3 separate regions of the Homo sapiens genome follow, and regions 2 and 3 are each linked to region 1. The links are contacts of gene promoters, found by promoter capture Hi-C in blood cells and fetal thymus (Javierre and others, 2016). All regions are on one chromosome and are shown on one strand. The core of a region is centred on a gene start or on the middle of the fragment in contact, and the rest is flanking DNA. Distances in the headings are between cores, read along the strand shown.

What was found. Contacts are between HindIII fragments. The CHiCAGO score rates a contact against its expected background, and 5 or more counts as called.
Region 2: the fragment with the promoter of ZNF749 here is called in contact with the fragment with the promoter of ZNF235 in region 1 in 5 of 17 cell types (non-activated CD4 T cells, total CD4 T cells, activated CD4 T cells and 2 more); the score reaches 27.2 in non-activated CD4 T cells.
Region 3: a contact is called between the fragment with the promoter of ZNF17 here and the fragment with the promoter of ZNF235 in region 1, in 2 of 17 cell types (total CD4 T cells and total CD8 T cells). The highest score is 10.5, in total CD4 T cells.

What each region holds. Positions count from the first base shown.
Region 1 is chr19:44,303,204-44,307,157 of GRCh38, forward strand. It overlaps ZNF235 (zinc finger protein 235), which reads right to left and starts at 1,822. Exons shown (of 5, transcript NM_004234.4): 1 at 1,768-1,822; 2 at 187-249. The coding sequence starts at 201. RefSeq lists enhancers at 1,605-2,158, 2,735-3,236, 3,237-3,736. The HindIII fragment of the contact is 5,796 bases long and covers 1,389-3,954 here.
Region 2 is chr19:57,433,500-57,437,453 of GRCh38, forward strand. It overlaps ZNF749 (zinc finger protein 749), which reads left to right and starts at 1,826. Exons shown (of 3, transcript NM_001023561.4): 1 at 1,826-2,094. The coding sequence starts at 2,080. RefSeq lists enhancers at 1,411-1,710, 2,341-2,390. The HindIII fragment of the contact is 4,352 bases long and covers 1-3,899 here.
Region 3 is chr19:57,409,458-57,413,411 of GRCh38, forward strand. ZNF17 (zinc finger protein 17) reads left to right here and starts at 1,704. Exons shown (of 4, transcript NM_001330617.2): 1 at 1,704-1,949. RefSeq lists enhancers at 1,708-1,817, 1,898-1,957 and a silencer at 2,201-2,403. The HindIII fragment of the contact is 5,033 bases long and covers 1-2,878 here.

The DNA.
Region 1 (3,954 bases), core at 572-3,071:
CAGATATATATATATCTCTCTGTTAATTTTTATACTATTATATTGAAATAAAAGGCAACAACCTGGCATATAACAACATTCCAAGTGCCTTTCGTTCCCTTTTACTGTTCCCAAACAGGAAAAATGTGTCCAATCTTTGTGAAATGAGATGTCATTTTAAGAAACACAAAGGCAAACCAAACTTACCTGGAACTTGGTCATTTTTCCCCTCCTCCTTCTGGGAAAAGGCAGAGTTCCGGGGAAGTGAACCTGAGGGAGGGAAAGGCATCATGAGATAGGTTAGGGATGGCATTAGTCACCATGGCACTTTTATGTGACACTTCAGAGAAAGGTCCCCCTGTCTCTAGGCAGACACAGTTGCACACGGCTTAGTGAGGAGAACGGGAGCTAGCTCCCAGCTACCCCTCGGCCCCCTCAACCAGCTGCTTTTGTTCATGAACATTTCATATTAACAGACCTAAATCAAATACAGCTCTCTGTGTACTCCTTCTGAACTTTAGTTTCCAAGGAAATGAGACACAGACAGGCAGGGGAATGTAACAGAGCCAAAATGCCTGGCTTCAAATTTTGGCATTTCTACCTATTTTCAACTGATCAGCAGTATAAACCTTAAGCGAATTATTAATCTCTCTGTGCCTTAATTCAGTTACCTGTGAATGGGGACAATAATAATGCCTGTATTCTCTATTTCCTGCAGCTTCTGACAAGCAAGTGCTATTATGCTTCATAAAACTGCCCTTTTGAGTATGCTTTCTAGAAAATGAATCTTTTAAGAAACCCAGAACTCAAAAATAATTGCTCTGTCCTGTGAGTTACCATTACCCTCAGAAAAGTCTGTAACTGTGATTGGTTGTCTAACATAATTAGTTCCGTTGGTAATGATAGTTAAACTGCCACAGGTTTTTTTTTCCTCCAACAGATGTAATTACTTGCAAATGTTACTAAGCTGGAGGAGCCTCAAGAAAGTCTCTTTTTCCACATGCATGAAAGCAATGACTAATAAAAACCTAAAACTCTCTAAGAAATGGTGTTACACTTAAGTTAACCACACGGGATTATTGGTTATAACCACATTATACTGAACATTTATTAGGGCCTCAGGACACCTCTGGCACTCTGCAAATCCGTAATGACGATCGCTTATCTGAGATAAAACACACAGGACATTCCCCAGGCTCCGCTGGAACTAATTCCTGTCTCCTAAACAAGAGGCTAGAAAAGTCCAAGAATCCAGGAACGGCCCCACATCAGGCAAGGATTAGAGAAGGGACAGCGGCTCCGTAGCTGGATCTCCTAGACTCAGAGGAGTTTCCAAACAACAGGCGTCTTTTTCAGTATTATAACAGAATTAACGGTGGCATCCAACATTTTCCTATGCACTGGTTTTAAGCTTATTTCTATAAAACCTCATTTAATTCTCACAAGAACATCACTGGGAACGCACTAACCCTTTACAGGCACGAGGAAACTGAGACAAGGAGAGATTAAGTAACTTGCCCAATATTTTACTGCGAGGAGCAGGCAGGACTGGCTGGTAGGTGCGTGAGGACGGCTAGGGCAGCAGACCCTCAACCTCGAAGGACGACGCGAGCCCGCCTCCCACGCAAGAGGTTCTGCCGAGGGGACGCAAACTCCCGCAGCCTCCCAACCCCGCCCTCCAGCGCTGGCCGCGGCTTCTCTTCCCCAAGCCAAGGACGGGTTCATTGCTGGCCCCACGCCTAGGCAAAGAGGGCTCGGAGAAGTCTTGGAGACCCGGAGCTGACTCACCTCCCTGGGAGATATCTCAGATCCGACCTCGCCTTCCTGGAGCGGAAGTGCCTCCGAGTGCCCACGGTTCGTGGACTCCACTTCCCAGAATTCCTAAGCGGAAGCGTCTCAGAGTTCTCTCACTCCTGGACTACAGTTCCCAGAATGCTCCAAGGGCAGCGCTTCCCACCAGCTGGGCTTTGTTTTGACTCAAGCCGGTTGGGTTTGAGCCACTTCTCTGGTGCTACTACTGTGAGATTCGTTTTTGTTTTATTCATTTTTAAAAGCTCATGAGAAAATAATTGTAAAATTTTTAAAGTGATGACATATAAAAATGAAAAGTGCAGCTTGTATTATTAAAATAAGTTAGAAACCAAAATTTTTCGCAGAAGCAGAGGGTAGGCTAAAATGGGAAGCGTAAAAGTGACTTAGGCTGAGCTCCGATGGACGCTGAACGTTAAGGAACACCAGATCTCAAACTTGTGTCAAATGCCGGCTCCCCAAATATCATCAACTCAACCTGTTGATAAGACAAAAAACAGAATTTATTGTTGATTGCAGTAATGGAGAACAACACTTCGACGGAGCGTTGGCACCTTCACAGAGCAAAGTGTCAAGGCAAGGTTGGAACTGATTGAGAACTGGATGTTTAAGGCGGGTCTTTCAATGCAAGGGATTTTATTAGTATTGCATAATGATCATGATACTACAGTCCAGGATTGGTGGATATAGCAAGGATTTTTGAAGCAAAGAATCTTAAATTGCAATCTATTGACACTTTCTTTGGAAGAGATTGAAAATTTGATGGGTCTCTGTGGAAGTTCCCATAATGAACAATTAAACAGTTTGCTTGGGCAGGAATCTCCTGGAATAAAGGCCTGCTGATGAAGACAGCTGAACAATCATGTTAGTGCCGAAAGTAAATTGTGATGAAACGGGAAAAGTTCACTTCTCCCTCTCCCAGGGCATGTGATGGGGTGTGGCTCGCTTCTTCGTGCCCAGCCGCTCAAACCTCTAGGGGAGCATGCACACGGGCAGGTTGTAGGGCTCCAACCCCACGGCAGTGTCTAGGGGTGAATGTTTACAGCTCCTGAAGCCCCAGTGGGCGTGTGTTATAGGGTGCTTTTTTAGTTCAGCCATCTGTAGGAGGCTTGTGTTAGCTCAATTAGACCCCTGACTTATCGCAAGCAAGAGAGGGCTTTCTGTATCCCAGAGGTTCTTGCCTTGGTGTACCAGAAGAATCGCATCACACATAGGCTTGGAGAAAGAGTGCAAGGATTGGAGAAACCTTGGAGAACGATTTGTAAGTAGCTCTCAGCAGAAGGGGGAGCCAGAAGGGAGATGGTTTTCGCCTGGAGTCAGCCTCTCAGCGGCCTGGGCGCTCCTCCGACTACCCAGGCCAAACTGCGTTATTCCACCGGTTAATGGCCTGCTGGCCTGCCGGTCTCTTCAGTGTGCTCTTTTGCCGACCCGCTCCCCTCGACAGCCTCTCGACAGCCAGCTGTTTGTGTGTCCGCCAATGCTCTCCTCTCAACGTCCAGCAGCTTGTGTCTCTGCCTGCTAGGGTATCAGGGTTTTTATAGGCACAGGATGGGGGCGTGGTGGGCCAGGGTGGTCTTGGGAAATGCAATATTTGGGCACAAAGGCAGGAATGCCTGTCCTCACCTAGGTCCGTGGCCACAGGCCTGGGGGTAGAGCCCTAGTCAGGGACCACACCCTTCTCCCCTCCAGCACTTCCATTCCCCTCTTCCGTATCAGTGAGGGGCAGGGAAAGAGGATGGAGTTTTAGTCCTTAGTGTCCAAGTTGTGTATATTTAGGGGTCGGTGACAAGGAGAGAAGGGAGTAAAGTGTTTGACTCTTTTCCCTCCATTATTCCTCAAGGTACCTAAGGGCTCATGACAGTGTTTTGTTTAATGTGCTATTCGTTCTAATATACTAAGAACCCACAAAAAGGCAATATAAATATTAAGCCAGAGAAATATCTTGAACTTCATTTATTTTAAATGTGTACTGTTATGGCAAACAAAAGCAGCTCCATTGGCCGGGAATCTAAGACAACGTTGTAATATGGGCATGTGTAAAATCTTGAATTGTTTTCTAATTTGTGTTCGGCTTCAAATATTTCATTACATACTTTGATCCTGATCCTGACATAAATGAAATTAAGTGTCTTATGGTTGAATAAACTAGATGAAACAAAGAAGCCG
Region 2 (3,954 bases), core at 576-3,075, about 13 Mb after region 1:
TGGGATTTCTTATTTTTAACTGGTTATGTTGAAAATTAGTTTAATATTCATTAATTTCCCACAACCCTTTCAAAGGTTTGTTTTTGCCAGACCTTCAGTTGGGCAGAGTTAATTTTTCCTTTTTTTTTTTTTTTTAAACTGGTTGGCAAACTAAATTGTAACGCTTTGGCCAAAAAATAGCCCTTTCCTTTTCTGAATATAAAGAGAATGGGTTTTAATTTTTGGTCTTTTCTTTGTTCTTCCTTCACTAATCCTGCAGAAGAGACCATAAGGCATTATCCAAATCTTCATTTGTTGGGGGCATGGTTTTCAGGTAGTATTGCCACCACCTGATGGCAATACTATTGCTACTCAATTTTTCTCTCACTGCTACTCAATTGCAGTGAGAGAAAAATAGCTCTAAATGCCGACTTTTTGTAGTGCATTGTAAAAAGCTGAATAAAGCCAGGGACGGTGTCCTGTACCTACAGTCCCAGCTGCTCTAGAGGCTGAGGTGGGAAGATAGCTTTAGCTCAGGAGCTGAGGCCTTATCATAAGGCCTTATAAGACTACCTGGAGGCTTCATCTGCATGATATAACCTTGGTCTTCACAACCCCTTGTCTTTTTTTGTTTTTGAGACGGAGTTTCGCTCTTGTTGCACGGGCTGGAGTACAATGGCGAGATCTCGGCTCACCGTAACCTCCGCCTCCCGGGTTCAAGCGATTCTCCTGCCTCAGCCTCCCGAGTAGCTGGCATTACAGGCATGTGCCACCATGCCCGTCTAATTTTGTATTTTTAGTAGAGATGGGGTTTCTACATGTTGGTCAGGCTGGTCTCGAACTCCCAACCTCAGGTGATCCGCCCACCTCGGCCTCCCAAAGTGCTGGGATTACAGGCGTGAGATACCACGCCCGGCCCACAACCCCTTAACCCAGACAACCATTTCTACTGATTCCAGGTCTTTAGATACAAACTCTTTCAACCAATTGCCAATCGGAAAATCTTTGAACCCACCTGACCTGGAAGCCCCGCCCCTCCCTTCCAGTTGCGCCTTTCCAGAGGAATCCAATGTACATTTTACATGTATTGATTGATGTCTTACGTCTTCCTAAATTGTTAAAACCAAGCTGTAGATGGGCCACCCTGGGCATATGTTCTTAGGATATCTTGGAGCCGTGTCATGGGCCATTAGTCACTCATATTTGTCTCAGAATAAATCTCTTCAACTATTTCACAAAGTTCCACCCTTTTCGTCGACAGAAAGATATTCCTCCTTCAACTCTCCATCACATCCTGTGTGGGTCTTTTCTTTCTTGTCCCAACAGAAGCACACTAACGATCAAAAAAAAGTCTCCAGAGCCTCAGTATGTGTGTACTTGACAAGCACAAAAGAGCTGACCGCTATGAATGGAGGACCAGTTCATTATGGTCAGCCATGTCGCTTCTGATGTTCTTCCTTTCGGGACTTGCTGTGCTTCAGAGAATCTGAAACGACAGGTCTCTGAAATATTTCTCAGACTTGTCCTAGACTGCTCTCCGGGAAAATCTGGTTACTTGCAGTTTAGGAGTCAGCAAAGCCCCTCCACGTCCTTAAGAGCCCCGGAACTGCATTTCTTAACGCTCCTCCAGGAGCCTCCAGCTTTTTTCCGTAAGGTCCGCGCGCCCAGCATTGTGAGGCGAGGCAGGCAGCAGCGTGGGAACTACATTACCCAGAAGACACTGCGGGCGACACAGGCAGCAACGTGAGAACTACATTACCCAGAAGACACTGCGGGGGCAGGGCAGCGAGTGTAGCCATTGGTCTAGCAGAGAGACGACTAATGAGGTCTCAATTGTGTGGGCGGGACTTCTGGCGGCGCCCTCATGGTTGCGTTAGCATGGCTACCTAGGGATCTGTTCACTGATTTAGAGGGTCCCAGAGCTCTGGGTCGGGACTGAGGTGAAAGAGCGGAAAAACGCGAGAAGCGGTGTTCCTTCTACACAGAGGCTAGAGTGCGGATCGGCTGAGTCGGCTGCAGGCGCCCCTGCCTCCGTCAGCGTCCAGGTGACCGCCGTTCCCGCCCCGCTCTTCCCTGGGTGGACTGGAGGAGGCCGCGCCGATGAACCTGACCGAGGTGCGTGCAGCGTCCCAGGCCGCCCCGCCCAACCCCTCCTCCCAGTGCTGAAGTCCCAAGGAGCCGCCCTGCAGGTTAGGCCCTTGTGTCTCTAAGAGAGGGGCGTTCTTGTGTGGGGTGCCCGGGACTGGGACTGCGGTGCGATGAGGCGGGGGAGCTCCCGTCGGAGACCGACACGTCTCTGGGGCTTGGAGGCACTGCAGAACGGGCGGCACTGGGGAGCCCGAGCGTCTTTGTCTCCAAGGAGCAGAGGTTGAGGCGGAGTCTCCCCTGGAAGGGCAGTGGAGCCGCAGAGAGCCATAGAGGGCTGTGCAGGGAGGACGAATGGGAGGGTCACGCCCAGAGTTAGAAGTTTAAAGTTGGGGAAAACAGGATGTTGAACGGGGGCAGGGGGACCGCTGAGGAGACCCCTTGAGTTATGGTAGGGCTGGGCCAGAGGGGTTGCAGTAGAGGGGAGATGTGATGAGACTCTGGATGGATCTCAGAGATAGGGTCAACAGGATTTCCTGCTGCATCAAACATAGCTGTGAGGGAAAGTCGGTAGTGAATGGTGTCTTCCATAGGTTTTGTTTTGGCCTGAAAAATCTGAAAGAATGGAATTAGAGATATCAGCTTAAGGAGCGGGTTTCAGACAGAAGATCCTGGGTTGGATTTTGGGCGACATCACATGGGTAGGTGGACGTAATTTCCAAAGGTGAGGGAAGGTAGCTGGCCTGGAGCTTTAAATGAGTTAGAAGTTGTGCACTTGAGAAGTTGGCCTGTGGATCAGATTGAGAAGGAAGAATCCTACATCGTTTTTTCATATGGGCTGAGGTAGGGGAGGGCTCAGATTTGGAGGAAAGACCATGGTAGGGAGGGCATCTCTGATACTCCCTGCAGAAGGGAGCAGATATGGGCTAAGAGTCTGGTCTGTTTCTGTTGAAAAAGAGGCCTGGATGGATAAGGAGTTGCCCTGGAATACAGAGACTGAGGCATGAGATAATTGTAGTCACTCCACCCTTCTAACTCAGCTGGCCCTGAGGGCCACTCTTTAGGGAACAAGATAAGGCCATGCAGCAACTGGGTCCAAAACTGGGCAGGGCTTTCTCACATCCTCCACCACAGTTAAGGGCCTCCAGCAAGCTCCCTTTACTGCATTATATGGCAGGCTGACCTGTTTGCTGAACGGACCAGTAACTGATTGACTGCTCAGCCCCATCCTACAACTCATTAACTTAGGGATGTAAAAACAGGTAATTGACTTAAACAGTAAGGAACTATATCAATCTTAAATAACCAAGCAAGTCAGAATCTAGTTTAAAGAGAGTTTATTCAAGTTCACATGTTGATGATAGCCATCTGGGACCATAGATTCAAGTTGTCCTGAATATACACTTCAATTACCACAGTGACAAGTGTTTGCTTTTTTTTTAAGGAAAAAAGAAGCAGTTTCTGAGTTGTTTACCAATAACTTATGTTAAAATAAGATAAGTTTTTATTGGCTATACATTCTTATTTATATTATAGATTACAGAAACATGAAGATAATAGGTGAGACAGCTAGTCAGGAACAGAATGTCTTAAAACAGTTGTCCTCAGGCATAGGTTCAGGGATGTGACTGACATCTCATATATTCTTGCCTCTCTGAGCCTGATACATTTTGTGTAGGTCAGACAGGTCTGGGCTATTTTTTTTTTTCCTCAGCCAATATCCTTCTAAATATGTACACATAGGCAATTGGAAATAGATGTAATCAATAATTTAAATGTATTAAAATATTTATTGTTAGAATGTTAATTTACCTGTAACTCTGCTTATAGTACAAAGCTTTATATATATATCACATTTCCTTAAAACATTAAGAAGTGTGGGCTGGGCAC
Region 3 (3,954 bases), core at 454-2,953, about 13 Mb after region 1:
TCCCGTCTTAACTTCCATGTAGCTGGCACTACTGAACAGCTTTAACTCTTCCAGACCTTCAGTTGGGTGGTTTTTTCTTTTCCTTTCGTTTCCTTCTTTCTCTCTCCTTCCTTCCTTCTTTTTGTAATTTGATAAACCAAATTTCAAGACTTTGGCCAAAAAACAGTCTTCTCCTTTACTGAATATCTCAGTGCTCCATTTTATTTTTCCCTCACCAATTCTGCAGGAGAGATCACAAGACTATGTCCATATCTTTATTTGTGGGGGTATGATTTTCAGCTAACATAGCTGCTAAGTGATTTAATTTACAATTATAGTGGTAGAAAAATAGCTCTAACTTCTGAGGTTTTGTAATTTATTGTAAAAAGCGGAATACAGGACATTTAAAGTGACCTGACAAGGTCAATACAGGACTGAGGACTAATTCATTAAATACGTCTTACGTGTCTTAGAGGACCACAGACAGCTAGCAACCCTACTCCTAATGTGTCCCATGCACTTAGTATTGTACCTGGCATCGAATGAGTGTTCATCAAATATGTTAGAGTAATAAATACGACAGCACAGTTTCCCTATTCAGCTTTACTTTTCTGGTAACTCTTTTAATATATAGTCTTTACCTCTCCCTTCAAGCTGTTAATGCACAATGTTTTCAAGTTTGAAAAAGAATCAGATTTTGGACACCAAACTTGAGTGTGTCCAAGGTTCCAGGACAACCTTAGCTTTTTTCCTCCTATCACAAATATGTTTCTCTATAACTATTTTTGCCACTTTCTTTGGATATCTACATAATCGTCATTAATAGTTTCAGTAATAGCCATTTCACAAGAGTTATTCAGAGACAATTTCAACTCCCTGTGCAGACACTGTTGATACAATTTCAGGCGAAATGATAAATCACTTTCCACTAATGAGATGAGATCATGCATTCCCAAACCTTTATCTCAGGAGTAAGATGCTTTCTTTGCACAAGGGCTTTGACTGGTGGAAGGCCACACTATTCTGGCAGATAATGGTAGATAAGTCGCTTTTCCTTTTCAGTTAGGTTTCAGTCTCTTAAAATAAGTGGAAAATATCTCAGATATAAAGTAATAAGTATCATGTGAATAAAGTGTTGCTGGGTAGGCTGAAAGACAATAACTGATTATTCAGAAAGGAAAGATATTACTCCTCAAACTCCCCATCATGCCATGTCTGGGTCTTTTCAATGTGCCCAGCAGAGCACATTGAAGATCATAAAACAGTCTCCAGAGCTTCGTTCTGTGTGTATTTGGCAAGCACAAAAGAGCTGACCGCTATGCGTGGAAGACCAGTTCTTTATGGTTGGCCATGTTCCTTCGGATGTTCGTCTTTTGGGAACTTGCTGTGCTTTACAGAATCTGAAAGGACAGGTCTCTGAAACATTTCTCTGACTTGTTCTAGACTGCCTTCCGGGAAAATCTGGATGCTTGCCGTTTAAAAGCCAATGAAGCCCCTCCACGTCCTTGGAGCCCCGCAACTGCATTTCTCAAAGCCTCAGGAGGATCCTCCTGGCTTTCATCCTGAACGCGAGTTAACTTAAGTTCAGAAGCGGGGCAGGCAGTGGCCTGGGAACTACATTACCCAAAAGACACAGCGGCGGACACAAGCAGCGAGTGTAGCCAATGAAGGCCTAGCAGAGCGGCGTCTACGGGGGTTCGCAATGCGTGTGGGCGGGACTTCCTGCAACGCCTCCTGGGGTTGTCAATATGGCTGCGTTGGGATCTGTTCACCTTCAGGCTGAGTCGAGACTGAGGTGAAAAAGCGGAAAAACGCGAGAAAAGGTTTCCCCGTTGTACAGAGGCTAGAGTGAGGCTCGGTTGAATCGGTTGCAGGCGTTGGTGCCTCTGTCAGCGTCCAGGTCACTGCCGCTCCCGCCCCGCTCTTCCCTGGCTGTGCTGGCGGAGGCTGCGCCGATGAACCTGACTGAGGTGGGTGCCGCGTCCCAGGGCGCCCCGCCCGATCCCTCCTCCGAGTGCCGAAGCCCCGAGGAGGGGCCCTGCAGGTCAGGCCCCTGTGTCCCAAAGAGAGGAGCGTTCTTGTGTGGGGTACCGGTGTCCGCGGTGCTGTGAGGCGGGGGAGCTCCTGTCAGGGACCTGCACGTGCGAGGCTTAGAGGTGCTGCAGAGCGGGCGGCACTGGGGAGCCCGAGCGTCTTTGTCTCCACGGAGCTGAGGGTGAGGCGGAGTCTCGCCTGGGAGGGCAGCGGAGCTGCTGAAAGCCGTAGAAGGCTGTGCAGGAAGGGTTATGCCCAGAGGTAGACGTTTAAAGTTGGGAAAAACAGGATGTTAAACCAGGACAAGGGGACCGCTGAGGAGACCCCTTGAGTTATGGTAGGGATGGGCCAGAGGGGTTGCAGTAGAGGGGAAGTGTGATGAGATTCTGGATGGATCTCAGAGATAGAGTCGACAGGATTTCCTGCTGCATCAAATGTAGCAGTGAGGGTAGTGAAGGGTCTATTCCATGGATTTTGTTTTGGCCTGAAAATCTGAAAGAATGGAGTTGGAGAAGTCAGCTTAGGGAGCAGGTTTCAGAGAGGATTATGAGTTGCATTTTGGAGGGCTGAGTTTTGGAGGGCAGATCATGGGTGGGTCCATAAGCCTGACGCTACCTTTAGAAAGGCGCAGACCTGTCATAGGAGGGATTCTGGCTCATATCTGCAAAAACGGAGTTCTGAATGGGTTAAGGAACTGGCCTAGGCTGGAGACTGAGGTGTGAGGTGGTTTAGATTTCTGCACCTGCAGACCCAGCAGCCCCCCAGGCCCACTCTGTGGAACAATAGGAAGGTCATCCAGACTAGTGGGGACATTGGGTCCAGACGGGGGTAGGGCTTTCTCACATCTAGTCAAGGGCCTCCAGCAAGCTTCCAGCAACTGAATTTGTAGCAGGCAGGCCTGGTTGCTGATGGGACCAGTAACTGACCTGCTTGCTTATCCCCTCCCTGCAACTTATTTATTTATGAATGTGTAAAACATTTTTTTTTTTTTTGAGACAGAGTCTCGCTCCATCGCCCAGGTTGGAGTGCAGTGGCGCGATCTCGGCTCACTGCAAGCTCCGCCTCCCGAGTTCAAGCAATTCTCCTGCCTCAGCCTCCCGAGTAGCTGGGACTACAAGTGCCCGCCACCACGCCAGGCTAATTTTTTGCATTTTTAGTAGAGACGGGGTTTCACCGTGTTAGCTAGTATGGTCTCTATCTCCTGACCTCATGATCTGCACGCCTCAGCCTCCCAAAGTGCTGGGATTACAGGCATGAGCCACCGCGCCCGGCCGAATGTATAAAACATTTATTTAACCACTAATGAACCAGTATCCTTCTAAATATGTACACATAGGTCGGCAGTTAGAAATGAATGTAACCAATAGTTAAATTTATTCACTTAATAATTGTTGAATGTTGATTTTTCTTTTTTCTTTTTTTTTTTGAGACGGAGTCTCGCTCTGTCGCCAGGCTGGAGTGCAGTGGCGTGGTCTCGGCTCACTGCAACCTCTGCCTCCCGGGTTCAAGCGATTCTCCTACCTCAGCCTCCCGAGTAGCTGGGATTACAGACATGCGCCACCATGCCCATCTAATTTTTGTATTTTTGATAGAGACAGGGTTTCACCATGGTTGGCCAGGATGGTCTTGATCTCTGCACCTCGTGATCCGCCCACCTCGGCCTCCCAAAGTGCTGGGATTAGAGGCTTGAGCCACCATGCCCGGCTGAATGTTAATTTTTCTATTTGCTTGCAATGGAAAGTTTTATGTATCACATTTCCTTAACACCGTAAGAAGTGGGAAAAATACACACCCAAAATTTCAAAACCCTTCCATGTCATTTGTACCGAAAACATGTAAAAAATATTTAATCCAGTAGAAAGAAATTGCTGATACATAGTGTGTACTACTTATATTTGATGCCCATATAAGCCCTATTAGTTGGCAATCCTTTTAATCTCT